7 separate regions of the Homo sapiens genome follow, and regions 1, 2, 3, 4, 6 and 7 are each linked to region 5. The links are contacts of gene promoters, found by promoter capture Hi-C in blood cells and fetal thymus (Javierre and others, 2016). All regions are on one chromosome and are shown on one strand. Each heading gives the region's core, a stretch centred on a gene start or on the middle of the fragment in contact. The rest is flanking DNA. Distances are from core to core; before and after follow the strand shown.

Region 1 (2,700 bases), core at 193-2,692, 1.2 Mb after region 5:
TATATATATAGATATATATATTCATAGTTGGATATATAAGTTGCTTACAGCTATTTATTATATATATATTTTATTAAGGGAGGGGGAAAAAGGAGAAAACAATTCTAGGAAGAGGAGAGGATAGATGAGAGGATAAGTTTAGACCTTCAACAAAACAGAAGTGGACAAGCTTCAACAATGTGTACAGTGTGCTCCACAATGCATGTTCTGTTCCAGGAAAACCATCATCTGTGGCCACAGGACAAATACACAAGGCTTCAATGTTTACTCGTAGACTGCCCTATCTCTTTCACTTGGATTTAGAAAATGAATAGACAGTTCTCCTGATAAAAGTTACAAACAAAGCCAACTTCATCTGTCAACCTTTTTTTTTTTTTTTTTTTTTGAGACTTTGAGACAGAGTCTTGCTTTGTTGCCCAGGCTGGAGTGCAGTGGTGAGATCTCAGCTCACGGCAACCTCCGTCCCCGGGTTCAAGCAATTCTCTTGCCTCAGCCTCCAGAGTTGCTGGGACTACAGGCACGTGCCACCATGCCCAGCTAATTTTTGTATTTTTAGTAGAGGTGGGGTTTCATCATGTCGGTCAGGCTGGTCTTGAACTGCTGACCTCAAGCAATCCACCTGCCTCGGCTTCCCAAAGTGCTGGGATAGCAGGTGTGAGCCAGTGCACCCAGCCACCTGCCAACCTCTTTTTGATAAACATAACCGAGCTTCACCTGTTATCAAAGACACCCTCTAAGATCTGTGAACAGCAATTTTTTGGTTGGTTATTTCCATATCATTGACATCATATTACAAAATCATTCCTATCAAGAAAGAAAGGAGAAATAAAATGATATTTTCAGAGCATCTGCTATAGATTAGGCATGTTTCAGGCAGTGTTGATGGCCATGTTTACTTGGCACTGACAACATGCCCAGAAGTTGAGCATTGGGACCTATTATTGTCAGAGACACAGAGAGGCTGCTACGCCAGCCTGAGCTCACCTGGCTGCTGATGGCAGAGCCAGGATCTGAATGCCAGTGTGTCTGACTCCCCAGAATCAAGTTCTAAACCTCTACAGCACACCACCCCCACCCCGATCCTTGCTCCCACAAGGTCCTTGTAGCCAACTAATTACCAAAGCACCATAGATTTCTGGAACAGCTTCTGTGAAATAAAATTGATCAGGGCTGCGAGACAACTCACTTACTGAATTGCCAGTGCTCAACCCTGACCTTCCCCATTGAGGATGAAGCCCCCAGCACACACATACTCCATGTGCTAGAAAACATAATACTAGAGGGAGAAGGTGGAAGGGGAAAGGAGAAATAAGGAGGGAAGGCAGCAAGCCTCCCTCCTACTGTGCTCCCTCCCATCCATCCAGGGCTTCCCCTGGCCCCCGCCCCCTCCCCACAGCCCTGCAGTTGGTCCCATTATCCCTTCACCCCAGCTAATTATAGTCACTGATTACCTAACGGCAAGCCCTACTATCACCTGCTTTGGCCTGACAGATTATGCCATCTGGGCCACGTGGCTAGGGTCTGAGAGCCATGAGAGGTCACAGAGAGGGGCAAACGGCTCTGAATGGGAAGAAATGTGTTTACAGCCCTGACAGCTGACTGGGCAATTAAAGGGGCTTTAGCTGTGTGTTCCCAGCTGAAACCCCTCTCCAGGGGCCTCGCCACCTAGTGCTATTAGCTGATGGGATGTGGCTGCATCTCATACCGGTCGGTTCCAAATGTGGACATGCTATGGGACTGCACCCTCTCCTAAAAAGGACAAGAAAAAGGACTCAGAGAAAGCTGTGGGCTCACAGTTGTTTGAGGTCCTTGTTGAGCCGACACCAGAATATACCCTCAGAAGAAATGGCCAGCATTTTGAGAAAGCAGTGTCCAAATACCTTTCTCACTTCCTGTGTTTATTGTACATTACCTTAAATACATGTATGAAACACACTTTATGAAATTGAACTCTATGTGACTTCTATATTAACAACTTTTGTTTCCTTATCAGCAGTGTGTCTGTCTCTAACTTTACTATGCCTGTAAATGACTGTCAATCTTATTAAGATGCAGGTTCTAAATCTGTCTATGTGGGGAAAGACAGGTGAGGTAGAACACAGTTTCAGTATTTCTAAGGAGCTCCTAGAGGAAGCAAACACCACTGGTCCACAGACCATACTTTGAGTAGCCAGGACCTAATTCACTACTGAATAAAATTAAATTAGTGAATTAATATTATATAGAAAACCTACAGATTAGTATTTCTCAAACTGTGTACTTCGGAACGCTAGTTATCCAAGAAAGCTGCCTGCGCTCCAGTAGGTTCTTAGTCAAGTAAGTTTGGGAAGCACTAGGTACTCTGGGTCCCCCTGGGAATTCACAATACACATGATTAGCATATCAGAGCTGAGAAAACCCACAGTGATCTCTTCCACTTTTTTGTGAACAGTTTGCAGTCTACTAAAAGTTTTGTGCTCTATGCCCTTAATGTTTGTTGCAATCCTTGCTGAGTATTTTATACTATCCTGATTGCTTAACCTGTCTATTAATTTCTCCATTTTGAAAATGCCTTCTCAGCCAGCCAAAGTTATTCACATGAAACACACACACGCACATGCACACACACTGGAAAGAAAGGCTTTGAGACTTCAGAGCAATGCCCATATGAGGTACTGCCATCAAATGCAGGCATTTTGGCAGTTAGTTTCCTGACAGCTT
Region 2 (2,700 bases), core at 102-2,601, 1.2 Mb after region 5:
TTATCAGGGATGTATCACCATTCAACTTCTCCCCCTGCCCAGTCCTGCTTCCTTCTTTTCCCTTCCACTGGTCTTCATCCCAAAGAAACACTTTGATAAATATCCAGCCTGTTAAATTATTTCCAGAGTTGGCTTTCCAGATGAACAACCTATGATGTCTTATTACATTAGAAACTTTCCTTCCTCTTAGGAACTATCTGGGTTCCTAAGGAGGAAAGGAGAGAAGGGGAAAGGAGGGGAGAAGGGAAGGGAGGGGAGAGAAGGAGAAGACAGGGGAGGGGAGAGGAGGGGAAAAGGGAGGGGAAGGGAGCGGAAGGGAGGGAAGGTAGGGGAAGGTAGGGGAAGGGAAGGAAAGGGAGGGGAAGGGAGAGGAAGAGAGGGACAGGAAATCAAACAGAATTATTCATGCTAATTAACTAAATTGGTCTCTTCTTCCAGCACCCTCAGAAGCCTCAGTGTGGTTACTATTTCCAGTGATATTTAAACATTTAGCAAAAGTGATGAGAATCTTAATTTGTTTACTTAGAAATAGGATTATTCCTAGACTAAAAGAAAATACTAGGAAAAGGTGGCCATAAACACGATCTGCTGAGCTGATTTTTCCCATACTGCCTACTGCTTCCCTGCCTGAAAGTTTAGTGGGGTCTATCTAGTTCTAAACACATATACTTGTATGGATCCTTTAACATAGACATTATAACAACAGACATAATGGGTTTGCTTAAAAGTCATCCAAACCTGAATTGTGAAGTAAGGCATATATACATGGATTACACTAAACAAGTACCTTGAGCAAAGTTATTCACCCCAAACTACCAAATACACCTGCAGCGTGGTCTAACATTTATTTGTGATTACCACTCATAATCATACTTAGCCAGGTGTGCCAGGGAGAAGAGTATCTGACCCAGCTGACACTAGATTGCTCTACCATTTGCATTGATCAAGTTCTGCTGGTTCCTTTCCATGTCCTCATACTGCTATGTTAGTCTGCCTTGGGGCACCTTTTCTATGTTTCAAAGACCATATTCCCAGTCCTTGCCATTTGTTTTCTGCTGGTTTCATTTATAAATCATCTTAAGCAATTGGATTAGATTGCTTAGTCCATACAATGCTGCACAAATATCTGTGCATAAATGTCCCTTGGCCTGAGAATGGCTGCTCTGCATGCATGGCCCTGCGGTCCTCTGTGTCTGTCTCTCTGATCTGAGTGCACTGTCTTGAATGCTGTTTTTATGCTTTATGTCATACCTTTGGGCTCTGCACACATTTTACTCATGTTAATGTAATTCATTGCTGAGGATCTGGGCTAAGAACAGCTCCTTTATAGAGGCAGCTGCCATGACACTTTCTGAGTGTCAACATTTGCATCCTCTGACTCCACGAGTGTAGGGATTCTGATATTTAGGAATGTCACTCACAATCATGTGGGCTATGCTGGTTTGCTGCTCCTTCAGCCATCTCTAAGAACACTGACTGTTTAATTCTTCCAATTTCTCAGGCATGAATCTTCTGCTCTTGGGACACTAAGACCCCTGCCATTTATTCTCCCATGCATTTCTACTCATTGTAAATGTGATCCTGTTGGGGCCTTAAATAGGACCCAATAAATAAATAGTCAACCTCTTTACTGATTAAGTTCCAAACCAGTAGAGAAATCTAAGGAAGCAGGCAGGTTGTGCCAAAGTGTGACACTGTTAAGCTGATAATAGAGAATATGGCTTATAACCACAGGCATTTAAACTTCCTTATACTGAATACCAGAATTTGCCAGAATTATCTCCCAGACATAGCAATTCGGAGCCAGAGCAAACACACATAGTTCCTAAGAGGAAGGAAAGTTTCTAAGTATTGCCAGTTTCTCTCTCTAGACTCTCCAAAGAGTTTAGTTATTTCTCTCCTCCAAGGGAAGAGGCCAGGAGTGATATGGTAATGGATGTTTCTCTACATGGATTAAGAACACCAAGAACGGTCAACAGTAGTATCAAATAGCCTTTCCAGATGCATCCTATGTCCAAGACACTGTTTTAAGCCCATTACATATTTTAACCCATTTAATCCTCATGACAACCTGATGAGGTAGGTACTATTTCTAACCTCCACTTCAGCAGATGAGGCACAGAGAGAGTAATATGTTTGCTTAGGGTCACTCTCCCAAAAAGGGCTAGAACCAGGATTTGAACCCAAGAAGTCAGATTCCAGAAACAAGGCTCTTAACTACTGAATTATGAGTTCCAAATTTACCAAGAATACACAACTGTTCTCTCCTAACAATTCCCTTCTCTATAGTCCAACTACACCTGCCCCTCAAGGCTAAGCACGAGCTCCAGCTTCCTGAAAAGTCTCCCTGACAAAGGAGTTCCTTGAAGTTCCCTCACCTATTAGACCTGCAAGGCTTTGGAGCTACAAGAATAGCCTTTACTTTTAAACCTACTAATTGACAGCTTGAACACTGTAGCCTTTGTTCCAGGGTGGACAGAAACCAAGGGATGCAAGGGTTAAGCCAGTGAGAGATAAGGTCTGATTCATTCTAGCCTATTATTAGATAACTCCAAGTGAATGAAATGATGTAGAGAAAAAATGGCTAAAAATAGGGTCTGATTTGTATCTTGCAACTATCAATTTTCTACCATCTTAGGGTATTATTATGAGTGCCTGCTCTGTGCTACGTGCTGGGCACCGTTCTAAAGCCTCAGTGGT
Region 3 (2,700 bases), core at 168-2,667, 1.3 Mb after region 5:
CCCAGGGACCCACTTGCAAGGTACAAATTGGAAGAGACGAAACAACTGCCATTAATGGAAAACCAAACATCATATGTTCTCACTAAGAAGAGGGAGCTAAACTATGAGGATGCAAAGGTATGACACAGTGAACTTTGGGGACTCACAGGGAAAGGGTGGGAAGAAGGTAAAGAATAAAGACTACAAATTGGGTTCAGTGTATACTGCACAGGTGATGGATGCACGAAAATCTCACAGATCACCACTAAAGAAATTACTCATGTAACCAAATACCACCTGTTCCCCAAAGACATATGGAAATAAAAAATTAAAAAACAAAAGAAACAACTGCCTTCCTGTGTGTCATTGATTCTAAGACACATTTTTTTTTCATATTTTATTCTCTTGGAAAATGAGGTGTGCTTTACAATTGATATCATGTCAGAATTTAATTGGCAGTAGTTTTTGTTTCTTAGTTAAAAAAATTAAAAAATCATATTGCATCTTACAATTGATGGCATCTTTGATTTAACAGGATACAGTGGCATAGATCTAAAGGGACAGCCCATGGAGGACATTGGGAGAGCTGTGGATGTGTGGCAGGAATGGAAGAAGTTTGGGTAACTGGGGCAGAAAATGGCAAAGGTGACTGAGTAGGAGGATTCACAGTCAGAGACTGGGAATACCTTAGTCAAAAGATTGTACAAAGGTCAACTTGTCCATTATCATCATCCTCAAATATTTGAAAGGCTGTCATGTGGAAGAAGAAAACATACTTGTTTTGTATGGCTCCTGAGGACAGAATGAGGGCCAGCAAGTCAAGCAAATGATGCTGCGTGGGGATCAAGAAACTCCGAATTTTAGAAATTTGAACTGGCCAGCAATTGGATAAACTTTCTTGTGAGAAAGTGAAATTTATAGAAAGGAGTCAAGAAGAGGCATATGGCTTTAGAGGGTGTCCCTGCCTTAAGTTTGAGGTTTAACAAAGCAACTTCTCTCCGTTTTGAGATTCCTATACTCTAAAAATTCATACCCATTTTAGCCTCCACCAGAAAATAACTTAGGTAAATAATCACAAAGAAGAATAGAGAAATGTGTAGGAAGATGTTAATTGTAGAGGAAGAAAGAGTCAATCAATACATCCATTCATAGGGAAATGTTTCAATAACCACTAAAATCTGATGAAATATAACACAGCTGTTGGAAATGACCATTATGAAGACCATGTACTGGCAAGGAAAGCTGTGTCTGAAAGTCTTGAGAAAATATGACACAAAATTACATCTTTACTGATTATATGTAAAAATATGTAATTTTCTGCATATGGAAAAAACTAGATAGAAATATGGAAGTGAAAACAGGTGATGTTTTTGACTGGCAGAATTCTGGGTTAGTCTTTTTCTCTTTCATTTTAAATTTTGACTATTATTGTGGTTAGCAATTTCAGCAACCCTTGTTGTGGGGGAAGTTAGTTTGTCTTATTTGAGGGATACCAACTGGGACATCTCTGATATGAATAACATGTGCTGTAAACTCCTGGTGCTCATTCCTGAAACACAAAAGATATTTTAAGTTGTTTGGACCTCATTACCTAATAAATAGACCTGTTGGGTGTTTATTTTAGACTAGGGGCCTCATCAAAACATTACTGAGACAATAAAGGCAATGTGAACCAAGGCAATTTTGGAAACCTTTGACATAGCCCCTACACTCAAATAACTCATCATTAGTCTCAAAAGCCAGATCATAAATAAATGAAACTAGCAAAATAGGTCATATAATCTGGATGAGTACAAAATGAGAAGGGAGAATTGGAGTGGGAGAAGAGGGGAAGACAAGTAATTTTGACTGCATGGAAGGCATCAAAAAAAGCTGCACAGGAAGCATGATTTTTAATACTGGTTGTTTTATTTCATCTAAATAATAAATGTTCTTTAAATAAACTAGATTATACTGAGAAAATGGTAATCTTCTGCCCCAGTCACCATCAAAACCCCAGTCCTGCTCCCCAGAGCCAACCTCTTTCAATTGTTGTACCTACTTCTCCTGGTAATTGTTTCCCTATCTTCAAAATAAGATGCTTACACTGCTAAATCTTGTTTTATAAATTTTCAGCCTTTTGTAGTGACTTCCTGTTATAGAACTTAAGGGGTTAGCTTTCTTATGCCATCCTCAACCCACATCCCTCAATTTAATTATATATCAAATACTGGGTGCATCATTATGACTATATAAATGTTGTTTATTACTAAACCATGTAATGTACCATAATTACTTATTCCTTCTCCTAGAACTTATTGTTTTTCCTCGGATTCTTAATACATCCTGGTTTCTGTTAATTTTTTAAATGTACTTACTATTACTTTTGTCCTAAATGCCCCAACGGATCTTTTAAAATCTATCGGTAATTTTTGCACTTGCTGGGCTACAGTTTCAAACACTCTATACGTTTCTGCCTCCTGCCCTCCCTTCTTCGACCCACCCATCCTGCACCCTCTCTCCCACGGCCTACAGTTCTTCTGCTCCTATTGTGGACCCTTTGATCTCCGGGCCAGCTACCTGGCTTTCATGCTAAGCCTTCTTTTCTTCACCCTCCTCCACCCCAGGCATTACATGGCCTGGTTTTTTAATACCATGTCTTTCTCTTCCTTGATTGACTCCCTCATTTTATAAAGAACATTCTTCATTTGCTTCTTAAGAAAAGATGTGTAGTGGGCAAAA
Region 4 (2,700 bases), core at 45-2,544, 1.1 Mb after region 5:
CCACAGGTTGTACAGGAAGCATGGCTGGAGAGACAGAAATATATGACCATGGCAGAAGGGTGAAGGGGAAGCAAGCACCTTCTTCACATGGTGGTCGAGGACCAGGGGGAAGAGAGAGAGAGAGAAAGAGAAGGGAGAAGTGCTACACAGTTTCAAACAACCAGATCTCATGAGAACTCATTCACTATCAGGAGAGCAGCAAGGGGGATGTCCACCCCATGATCCAATCACCTCCCACCAGGTCCCTCCCCTAATATCGGGGATTAGAATTCAATATGAGATTTGGGTGGGGACACAGAGCCAAATCATAGCAGTGTGGCTTGAAGGTTCTGCACAAGCAGCCCCCAAATGGAGTTGAAAAAGTACAATAGACACATTTTATCCACTTGGCAGTTTTTTCAACTTTTGGCAATAGTCAGGATAGAGCCTGTGAAAGTTAAAACTTCAGGACTCATTTGGAAGTTGGGACACTAAGTTCTTCCACTTTGATGTGGTCTTTCTGTTGTGGAGAAGAAAACTAGAAATAAAGGAAGTGAAACAGAAAATGAAGGAGTGAGCAATACTCAGCACAGATGGCTTAATTCAAACAACAGGATGAAGCTGATTGCTTCCCTGACACTGATTATGTGCTGCCACTGTTCTGAGTGCTATACATACACTGCTAATCACTTCACTTTCTCAGCAAGGGGATACTCTCTATCTCCATTTTACATATGAAGAGACTGAAGCTCAGATAGCCTACCAGCCAGGATCCTAACCCAGGCATTTGGTGTCTAGGGACCATGTGCCTAAGGATCAGCTCCTCTGTGCAAAATTGTTTGAGTCAGCTAGGGAAGGAGTGTATGAATCAATTACAGTATGACCAAATTTATAAGTAAGTAAATTACTGAATGCATACATTTACAGACAAATGAACTGAATAAATATATAGACAGCATCACTTTTCTGAGAACTAAAAAGGATTTGGCAAATCTCCTTAGTCTTTATCTTGAGATATATCCTCCATGAAATCTTTGAATCTAATCAAAACTGCCACTAAGGGAAGGCAGGTTGTTATTTGCATCGTTGTAGGTACCATAGGGGAGGAGAAGCCAGGGTAGGGAAGAGAGGGAGAGAACATCAATGCAGCTTCACTCGTTCCTCTAAGGCCAGCCTTGCTGCCTCCCATGCCACAGAGTCCAAATCACCCACCAGTTACTTTCCAAGGAAATTATATTTTCTCTTCCAAAATGTTATTATTACGGATTTATTTGGCTTTGATTAAAGAAAAAATAGGGGGAAAACTGCTATCAGTCACTCACATTTCATTGTCCATTTATTTATTCACTAATTTATTTGCTGGACATTTATTAAGTCTGTGTGCCAGGATTTGTGTCAGATCCAGCTTTGCCTTGAGAGGAGAGTTGTTGTCTTAGGTTTGATTCCCCTGGAGGTAGACTGAGACCAGAATGGGTGTGCAAGAGGTCTGTTTGTAAGCAATCCCAGGACAACTGGCACAAGTGTGTGAGTAGCAGAGTCAGATTGGGCAGGGAAGGAAGCTAATAGAGGGTATGCCTTCATGCCGGTTAGTGCAGAGCTCAGTTTTACCTGGGCAACCCTGGAACATGTTGTAGAACATACCTCCAAGGGACCCTGCCCAAGGGGTGATGAGATAGGCTCATGAAGAAAAGAGGTTTAATTGACTCACAGTTCTACAGACTGTACAGGAAGCATGGCTGGGGAGGCCTTAGGAAACTTATGATCATGGCAGAAGGGCAAAGGGGAAGCAAGCACCTTCTTCACATGGTGGAGCAGGAGTGAGAGGGAGAGTGAAGGAAGAAGTTCTACACAGTTTCACAGTTTCAAACAACCAGATCTCATGAGAACTCACTCACTATCATGAGAATAGCAAGGGGGAAGTCCAGAGTCTTATCATCTAACTCACATCCATAATTGGTTGAGGTGAGGGCTGCTCCCAGGTACCATAATCCCCTTGCACTTTTGGTTTCCCTGTCTGTGATGCAGAAAATTCTCTCAGACTGAAAGCTGCAGGTGCTTGGAGTAGGATACTGTAGGCATGCACTAGAATGGTGAGTGCCAAGAGGATATAGTATGGGTAAGACCCCGCAGCATCTGCTACAAATGAACACATAGATGATTAATTTAAGCAGAAGCTAGACTAGGAATATGACCCTGGTACTACAAAAGCACATAGAAGAGAATGATTGATTTATTCTCCACTAGGCTTCCCTGACCACACAAGCACACACTTGTACACACATATCCATGCATGCACATGTACACACACATGCATACCTATGCGCAGATGCACACACACATGCACACACACACTCTTCTTCATTCCACAGCTCACAAGTAATTCTTTATCAGGTAACTTGGCTAAATGCTTATGTTCTGCTGTTTACAAGGATGAAGGCTGTCCTTTTGAGACCTCAAGCCTTGGAAAGACTGTGATTCCTCTTCTGATATGGAATTCAATGTAAAATCACCCTAACATATAAATATGTGTATGGAAGTTCAAGCTAGTTGTGATTTTTCTGATGTTGATACGCCAGTTTTTTTTGTATGTGCAAAAAAATGTCATATTTTTTCCAAACAATTTCTTGGTGTCCCTGTTTTGTTTGTGTCTCGGGTGCATACTTGGTGTGCCCATTGGGTGGTCTCTACACTCTTCACAAAACTAATGCATCATGCGGAGGA
Region 5 (2,700 bases), core at 91-2,590:
ACCAGATTTAACAAGCAGACAAAAACAACCCCTACAAACCAGTTAATTTTCCAACATGCTTTCTGCTTCCAGAATTCTAGACTGTACTGTGGTTTTCCATCCATCTCACTGACTGCTCTTTCCTGGTGTCTTTGGCTAATTCTTTGCCAATCCAGCTAAGTTTACTTGTTCCTGCTAATGTCCCTTTCACTCTGACATTTGGTACAAAATCCCTTCCCCTTTCCAGCCTCTCTTTCTGGACAGGGAACCTTGTTGCTGTCCTTTCCCTTCTCTACATTACTCTCCTGAATCTGCTCTCTTTCCTGTCCTTTCTCCACTTCAGTATCTGCTGTCACCTCTCCTGCATCTTTTCTCCACTGAATGACTCGGTTCTCTCTACCCCACCTTCCTGTCCCTTCTTACCTTAGAATGGTGACATGGCCTAAGTTACCTAAATCAGGCAATCACTGCTAGAAACAATACTAAAGTCCTGTCTCAGGTTTGCCTCCTTATCTTTGCGCTCCCACCCCCACGATGTCCAGCAAAGCATATTACACATAACTTGATTCAATTACCATTTAGTCATTTCTCCAAAGGATAAAGGCCCTTACCGCCCAGAAACCTTCAAGAAAGAAGGCAAACATAACTTCGATACAAAGTAAAATCATCAGATATGAGAATGAATACAAAACTGGCTACTGTTAGCGCCACTGTTTCCAAACCAGTTCCTGTAAGAACAATGCCTTAGTCTTGCTCATCAGACCGGGGTAATCACTGTGCCGAAACCATGACTGGCACGTAGTAGGTACTTAAACACTAGTCGGTAAAACGAACCAAAGGACACGCTAAGGAATGAACACTCTGTGCTTTGCACAGTCCGTGGCACACAGCTGCAGCTCCAAGAGGAAGCCACTGCAAAAGAAGCGCGCCCTTGGGTCCTCCCCTTCCCTCGCAGACCCCCAAACCCGGCGCGCTCCTAACCTTGGTGTCCACGTCGGCCAGGCAGTCTCTGCGGAACTGGTCGAAGAGCCCCTGGCTCTTGAGGTGGTTCACGATCATGGCCACGAGCTGCGGGTCCCCGGCGCCCGCACCCGCGCCGCCCGCCCCGCCCGCGCCGGGGCCAGCCCCGGGGCCCGGCGGCGGCGGCGGTGGCTGCGGCTGCGGCTGCGGCGGGGGAGGCGGCGGCGCCGGAGGAGGCGGCTGCGGCTGTGGGTTGGTGGCCATGGTGGCCTGTGCCGGGGAGGGCAAGGGCCCTGACCGGCGGACGATCCTGGGAGGCGGCGGCTGCACTGGTCCCGCCGCCTGAGGGAAGCCAACGGGATGTTGTTACGGAACCAGCGGATCCAGAGCAACCCCGGAAGTGAAAGGGAACTGGGGGAAAGGAGGAAAAGACGGTGACAACATTGACGAAAGTCCGGCGACGGAGGCCGCGAAGAGCCAGTTTCGACCGTCGCCGGGCGCAAGCGCCCTCGCGAGGCCGAGCTGCGCCGGAAGTGGCGGCGACTGTGGCGACGGAGACGACAAGACTGTGCTGGTCGCGGGTTGTGGGGTTTAGGTCACCGGCAGGGGTCTGGAGTCCCTGGAGGTTAGGGCTTCGACCCGCGCGACACCTGGGGCCCTAGGTCTGAGCGGGGGCAGTGCGTTTCTGGCCCCGCTTCATCCGCGACGGCATTTTAGGCCTGCCTCTCTTGCTCCAGTTTCCCGGAGCAGTGCATAGAGATCCATAGACATTTGTAATGCGAACCCTACGTGGATCTGCTCATTCTAACTTCGCCCAACCCTCTTCGTTCTTAGCCTGTGATCCTGCACTATTCTTGTCCCAGCAGGTAGCTCCAAGTTCCTTCTGTCTCTCTTCTGCCTGCACATACCATTTCCCCGTGGGGGTCCCTTGTTTCTGGCAGTGTGCCTGTGGATTAGATCCGATCCCTCCAGCCCGTTCTTCCTATCTGTGAAGACAAATCGACAGGCTTTTATTTTTAGGAGATTTGCTATTGATTACTATGATTATAGCAGGTAAAACATCTATAGCACATATTATGTACCAAGCGTGGCGTTAAGTGCTTTTACATGTATTAACGCATTTAATCTTTGGACAAACACTAAGAGCTAGGTCTGATTACTGTCCCCAGTTTGCAAATCAGGGAACCAAGGCTCAGATAAATTAAGTATGTTGAGTAAGATTACACAGCTAGCAAATCACCTGCTTTTGGACTGCATCATCTTTGAAATTATTATTAGTACGTGGTCAAAGCAACATAAATATTAGAAAATTTCATAATTACTAAATAGTGTGTGTAACTTTATTGAAAAATGCATATTGTTGCTTTTTAAAGTTCCTACATCTGTGGCTGAATATATCTTATTAGTAGGAAAAGAAGGGTTGAGCATCAATTCTATTCCTATTTGTAATTTTTATAGCTGTGTGCCCTGAGAAACCTTGTTCATATAAACAAGTACTGTGCCTAGGAATGGAAGAGTTTTGTTGTAGCAATATCATTCAATTCTTGACCTCAAAAAATTAGATTTGATTATCTATGAGCTGACTTCAATTAGGCCCTCCTTCTATTTTATGGAAAGCAAAGAGCTGAAAACCACCTGGCTTGCCAAAGGATTTGTTTACTTAATCCTTATTTTTTCACTCTTTCAGATTCTGGGAAATATACCAGATAGGTTTTACCAAGATACCAAATGACTATGAATTAGACCTGATTTTTTCAATGA
Region 6 (2,700 bases), core at 169-2,668, 1.4 Mb after region 5:
CCCAGAACACTTTCATATCACACCTAGATGCTGCTCACTTTCTGAGAGCTGTTTCCCCCAATGATCTGACCATCTTTGGTTAAGTTCCCACCTTGTGATTGTATTCATTTTCCCAAATCGTACTACTAAACCAATAATTCCAGGAGGATGAAGCTCTTGTTATGATTCATTATACTTTTATACATCTGTCCTTGTTGGCCTTCCCTTATTATTTGTTAATTTCAAAATGGCTGCAATGGATCCAGACTCTGAAAAAGAAATAATCCTTGATGCTCTTCCTTGTTATCAATCGACCTGCCTCTGCCTCTTCCTAGCTCTGTGGTCTCAGCGAAATTAATAATATTCTCTTAGTTGAGGTTTCTTATTTTATTCTATTATTATTATTTTTATTATACTTAAAGTTCTAGGATACATGTGCAGAACGTGCAGGTTTGTTACATAGGTATACACGTGTCATGGTGGTTTGCTTCACCCATCAACCTGTCATCTACCTTAGGTATTTCTCCTAATGCTATCCCTCCCCTAGCCCCCAACCCCCCAAGAGGCCCCGGTGTGTGATATTCCTCTCCCTGTGTCCATGTGTTGAGGTTTCTTATTTGTAATATGGGTGTAATAATGCTTACCTCTCAGGGCTGTTAAAAATATAGAGAATACTCAATGGATTGTGCAAAACTCCTAGGACAGTGTTTGGCAGAGAGCAGGCCCTCCTCTCCTTCCTACTGTATAGCAAACGTCTTGAGAATAGGAACATGTCCACACGGTGTTTTGTACTTAACAGGCATTGGAAACAGATTTGCTGAATGAATGGATAAACAAATATAATACTACAAAAGGATTTTTAATTATTAGTATTACAAAATAACTTTACATACAGCAAGTTGATAATTTTGGCATTCAGTCTTGTAGTACAGTCTACAAGATATATATATATACACCATATATATATATACACATATATATACCATATATATACATATATATACACACATATATATATACACATATATATATACCAGTATATACACTACGTACACTATACATATCTTGTAGACTAAAATGGAATATATGATCATTAATAACACTAAATCTTTTCACTTTAACATGTTTGCCCTATTGTTTATTTAATCTCTGATGTCTGTACCAGCTCCCTGCTACCTGGCTTTATCCTTTCCTGTGAACTAATCATTCACTCATGCATGCAATTAACATTTGCTGACCATTTACTGTCTACCATAAACCAGGGTGCATGATTCATAAGACTCCTCTGTCTCTGCCTCCAAAAGATTTATACACTATGAAAAAAATGCATAAACAATTTATAATTAATGGAGGTGTTATGATAGAAGTACAAAAAAGTGCTATGGTTGTAAGAATGATTCATTTTGCCTAGGGAGTTTGCTTACCAGAGCTTACATGCTAGAAAGTGATTTTTCTCTTTGTAAACTAAATTGAGTTACTGGTAGTAAAAATAGCTTCCATTTGTCTAGTACTTTAAAAGTGCTTTCACATCCATTTCTTCTTTTAATCCTCATAATGAATGCTCTATAGTGTAATGGTTTTCTTTAAGATATATTTGCAAAAAAAAAAAAAAGGATGTTATGAGGCCAGCTGATATGCAACATGGAAATGCATTTGAAATCTCATAGGTAGAAGATAGAAGCCAGAACTGGAACCAGTGTTCAATTGGAACGTTATGGGAATCATTCCAAGAATTTTTGCTATTTTGCTAATAGCAAAGACCAGTTTCTTCACCTTCATCCTCAATGTCATCTCCTCATTTCAAGCCTGACCTACCATCTCGCTTTTGGGTTATTCCGACAGCCTTCTGACTGGATTCTCTGATTTGTATCTCATCTCCCTCCAAACCATTTGCCATATTGGCCACAAAATAATTTTTTAATACAAATTGGACCACATCATTCTCCCATTGAAAGCTGTTTTATGCTATAGAGCTTCACACTCCCTATAGAGTTAAATCCAAATGCTTTCGCATGTTTATAAAACTCTCCATCATCTAAACCTGTCAACTTCTTCAAACTTGTTATTGGTCACTTTCTTCAAACTATACTTACTGATTTTACTCCAAGCCACCATACCATCTCCATTTTTGTGCCTTTATAGATGCAATCTTTGGCCTAGAATGCTTTTAGCTCTCCACCATTCTGTCTGGTACAACGATGGCAGACATACAAAGTGTGGCGATTTTCTTGTTTATAACTAGACATACTTAACAACAATAGCAGAATCTTCACAACATAATTTTCATTCTTGCTTTTTTTCCCTCTTATTTTATTACTACATAAAATAGAGTTTGGGAACCATTAGTCTAGCTTTTTCTCTTAAAATCTCAGGGAAAGATTATTATGTTTTTATTGCATATTAAAGATTCATGACATTTATATTCATTTAACATAGAACTAAAATATCTTCTATTGTGAGCATATTTTGTGCTACATGCTAAGTAACTAGCTGGGGATAAGTCAAACAGGGCATATCTGAGTGTATCATGGATCTCATATTCAAATGAAATAGACAATAAAATAAATAAATGAATTAAATCTTACATATTGGTGAGCAATGCTTCTGAGGAAATAAAAGATGGCCTGAGAAGGAGGACACTTTAGAGTGGACAGCCCATGAAGGTTTCTAGGAGGAAATATATCTTAGATGAAGTTTGAAAGATGAGGAGCCAGCTGTGCA
Region 7 (2,700 bases), core at 88-2,587, 1.2 Mb after region 5:
AACCTATGAGTCATTAGCATTTCTGAGAGAAGGATAAAAAGCAAATGACCTGGAAAACGTATTACAGAGAAAAATTGAAGAAAATTTTCCTAATTTTACTAGACAGGTAGACATCCAGATACAAGAAATCCAGAGAATACTATGAGATACTGTACAAAATGAACAGGAGGGCATAGAGATACCAGATTGTCCAAGGTCAATGCAAAAGAAACCTTAAAGAGAAAGGCCTAGAGAAAAAGGTCAGATCATGTGCACAGGGAATCCCATCAGGCTAACAGCAGAAACCTTATAAGCCTGAAGAGATTGGGGGTCTAAACTTAGCATTTTTCAAGAAAAGAAATTTCAACTGACAATTTTATATCCCTCCCTAAGTTTCATAAGCAAAGGAGACATAAAATCTTTTCCAGATAAGCAAGTTTTAAGGGAATTCATTACCACTACACGAGCATTACAAGAGATTCTTCAGAGCATTCTAAACATGGAAACAAAGAACAATAACAGCTACCACAAAAATGCACCTAAGTACATAGTCAATAGACCCTATAAAACAACCACACAATACAAACTACAAAGCAACAAGCCAATAACTTCGTGGTAGCCCCAAAACATCATATATCAATATTAACCTTGAATGATAATAGGTCTAACAATCCAAATTAAAAGTCACAGAACGCCAATTTGTATTTTTTTTTAAAAAAAAAGAGGATCCCTTCATCTTCTGACTTCAAGAAATCCATCGCACACATAATGACACCCATAGACTCAAAATAAAGAGTTGGATAAAGATCTATTATGAAAATGGAAAACAAAAAGGCAGGGGTCACTATTCTTATATCAGAAAAAAATAGACTTTAACTAACAACAGTAAAAAAGGACAAAGAAGGGCATTACACAATGATAAAGGGCTCACTTCAACAAGAAGACTTAACTTTCCTAAATATATACACACCCAACGTTGGAGCACCCAGATTCATAAAACAACTACTTTAGAAATATGAAAAGACTTAATAACATTATAATAGTGAGGAAAGCCCTATTCAACACCCCTCTTACAGCATTAGAGAGATCACTGAGGCAGAAAATTTACAAAGAAATTCTGGACTTAAGTTTGATACTTCACCATTTGGACCTAATGGGCATCTACAGAATACGCCATCCATCAACCACAGAATATACATTCTTCTCATTTGCACACAGAACGTACTTCAAGACTGACCAGATGCTCACCATAAGGCAAGTCTCGATACATTAAAAAAGCAAAACAATACCAACCATACTCTCAGATCACAGTAGAATAAAACTAAAAATCAATAACAAGAAGATCTCTCTAAACCACATAATTACATGGAAATTAAACAACTTGCTCCTGGATAACTTTTGGGTAAAGAATGAAATTAAGTCAGAAATCAAAAACTTATGTGAAATAAATGAAAACAGAAACCCAACATACCAAAATCTTTAGGATGCAGCAAAAACAGTGTTAAGAGAAAAGTTTATAGTGCTAAGCACCTACCTCAAAAAGTTAGAAAGATCTCAAATTAATAATCTGAGAGCAAACCTAGAGGAACTAGAAAAGCAAGAACAAACTAACCCCAAAGCTAGCAGAAGAAAATAACTAAAATCAGGTCAGAACTGAACAAAACTTATGTCCCAGAATCTTCACAAAGACTCCATGAAATCAAAAGGTATTTTTGAAAGGATAAACAAGATCAATAGACCACTAGCTACATTAACAAGAGAAAAAGAGAGAAGATGCAAATATCCACAATTAGAAATAACAAAGGTGACATAATATCTCACAGAAATACAGAAGATCCTCAGAGGCTATTATAAATACCTCTATACACACAAACTACAAATTCTAGAGGAAATGAGTAAGTTACTGGAAACACACAGTCTCACCAGGTTGAATCAGGAAAAACTGAAACCATGAACAGACTAATATTGAGTTCTGAAATTGAATCAGCAACAAAATCCTACCAACCAAAAAAAGCCATAGACTGGATGGATTCACAGCTGAATTCTACCAGACATACAAAGAAGAGCTGGTACCAATTCTACAAAAACTATTCCAAAACATCAATCAAAGAGGAGGGACTCATTCCCAACATATTCTATGAAGCCACAATTATCTTGATACCAAAAGCTGGTGAAGACATGAAAAAAAGAGAAAATTACAGGCCAATATGCCTGACAAATATAGATGCAAAAATTCTCAACAAAATACTAGGAAATCAAATCTAACAGCACATTACAAAGTTAATTCATCATGATCACCTAGGCTTAATTCCTGGGATGTAACGTTGGTTCAACATATGCAAATTAATAAATGTCATTCACCGCATAAACAGAATTAAAAACAAAAACCATATGGTCATCTCAATAAATGTGAAAAAGTCTTCATTAAATTCTAACATCCTTTCATAATAAAAACCCTCAAGAACTTAAGCACTGAAAGAGCATGCTTGAAAATAATGAAAGCCATCTATGACAAACCCATGGGCAACATCATACTAAGTGGGCAAAAACTGGAAGCATTTCCCTTGAGAACTGAAACAAGAATGTCCACTCTTACCACTCCTGTTCAACATAATACTAGAAGTGCTAGCCAGAGCAATCAGGCAAGAGAGAGAAATAAAAGGCATCCAAATAAGAAAAGAAGTCAAACTATCACTCTTCACAGATGATAAGTATTTTAGA

Evidence for each region. The method cuts DNA at HindIII sites, captures the fragments that hold promoters and counts their contacts. A CHiCAGO score of 5 or more calls a contact.
Region 1: a fragment that was not itself captured here is called in contact with the fragment with the promoter of BOD1L1 in region 5 in 2 of 17 cell types (monocytes and M2 macrophages); the score reaches 7.2 in monocytes.
Region 2: a contact is called between a fragment that was not itself captured here and the fragment with the promoter of BOD1L1 in region 5, in 1 of 17 cell types (M2 macrophages). The highest score is 6.6, in M2 macrophages.
Region 3: a contact is called between a fragment that was not itself captured here and the fragment with the promoter of BOD1L1 in region 5, in 1 of 17 cell types (total CD4 T cells). The highest score is 5.2, in total CD4 T cells.
Region 4: a contact is called between a fragment that was not itself captured here and the fragment with the promoter of BOD1L1 in region 5, in 1 of 17 cell types (monocytes). The highest score is 5.4, in monocytes.
Region 6: a fragment that was not itself captured here is called in contact with the fragment with the promoter of BOD1L1 in region 5 in 4 of 17 cell types (naive CD8 T cells, monocytes, total B cells and 1 more); the score reaches 9.6 in naive CD8 T cells.
Region 7: a fragment that was not itself captured here is called in contact with the fragment with the promoter of BOD1L1 in region 5 in 3 of 17 cell types (M2 macrophages, monocytes and naive B cells); the score reaches 8.9 in M2 macrophages.

The regions. Positions count from the first base shown.
Region 1 is chr4:14,866,526-14,869,225 of GRCh38, forward strand. The region is part of intron 1 of LINC00504 (long intergenic non-protein coding RNA 504); the gene reads right to left. Among named protein-coding and RNA genes, the nearest start is that of LINC00504, 20 kb to the right of the region's middle. The HindIII fragment of the contact is 2,551 bases long and covers 168-2,700 here.
Region 2 is chr4:14,808,965-14,811,664 of GRCh38, forward strand. The region is part of intron 2 of LINC00504 (long intergenic non-protein coding RNA 504); the gene reads right to left. Among named protein-coding and RNA genes, the nearest start is that of LINC00504, 78 kb to the right of the region's middle. The HindIII fragment of the contact is 3,678 bases long and covers 1-2,700 here.
Region 3 is chr4:14,951,160-14,953,859 of GRCh38, forward strand. All of the region lies in intron 7 of CPEB2-DT (CPEB2 divergent transcript), which reads right to left. Among named protein-coding and RNA genes, the nearest start is that of CPEB2-DT, 50 kb to the right of the region's middle. The HindIII fragment of the contact is 3,387 bases long and covers 1-2,700 here.
Region 4 is chr4:14,766,754-14,769,453 of GRCh38, forward strand. The region is part of intron 2 of LINC00504 (long intergenic non-protein coding RNA 504); the gene reads right to left. Among named protein-coding and RNA genes, the nearest start is that of LINC00504, 120 kb to the right of the region's middle. RefSeq lists enhancers at 1,780-1,999, 2,040-2,089. The HindIII fragment of the contact is 5,250 bases long and covers 1-2,700 here.
Region 5 is chr4:13,626,385-13,629,084 of GRCh38, forward strand. It overlaps BOD1L1 (biorientation of chromosomes in cell division 1 like 1), which reads right to left and starts at 1,341. Exons shown (of 26, transcript NM_148894.3): 1 at 961-1,341. The coding sequence starts at 1,203. MIR5091 (microRNA 5091) reads left to right here and starts at 1,481; the gene lies at 1,481-1,573. RefSeq lists enhancers at 770-1,500, 1,338-1,497, 1,501-2,231 and a silencer at 998-1,197. The HindIII fragment of the contact is 7,220 bases long and covers 1-2,700 here.
Region 6 is chr4:14,976,761-14,979,460 of GRCh38, forward strand. All of the region lies in intron 7 of CPEB2-DT (CPEB2 divergent transcript), which reads right to left. Among named protein-coding and RNA genes, the nearest start is that of CPEB2-DT, 24 kb to the right of the region's middle. The HindIII fragment of the contact is 4,392 bases long and covers 1-2,700 here.
Region 7 is chr4:14,788,796-14,791,495 of GRCh38, forward strand. All of the region lies in intron 2 of LINC00504 (long intergenic non-protein coding RNA 504), which reads right to left. Among named protein-coding and RNA genes, the nearest start is that of LINC00504, 98 kb to the right of the region's middle. The HindIII fragment of the contact is 2,973 bases long and covers 1-2,700 here.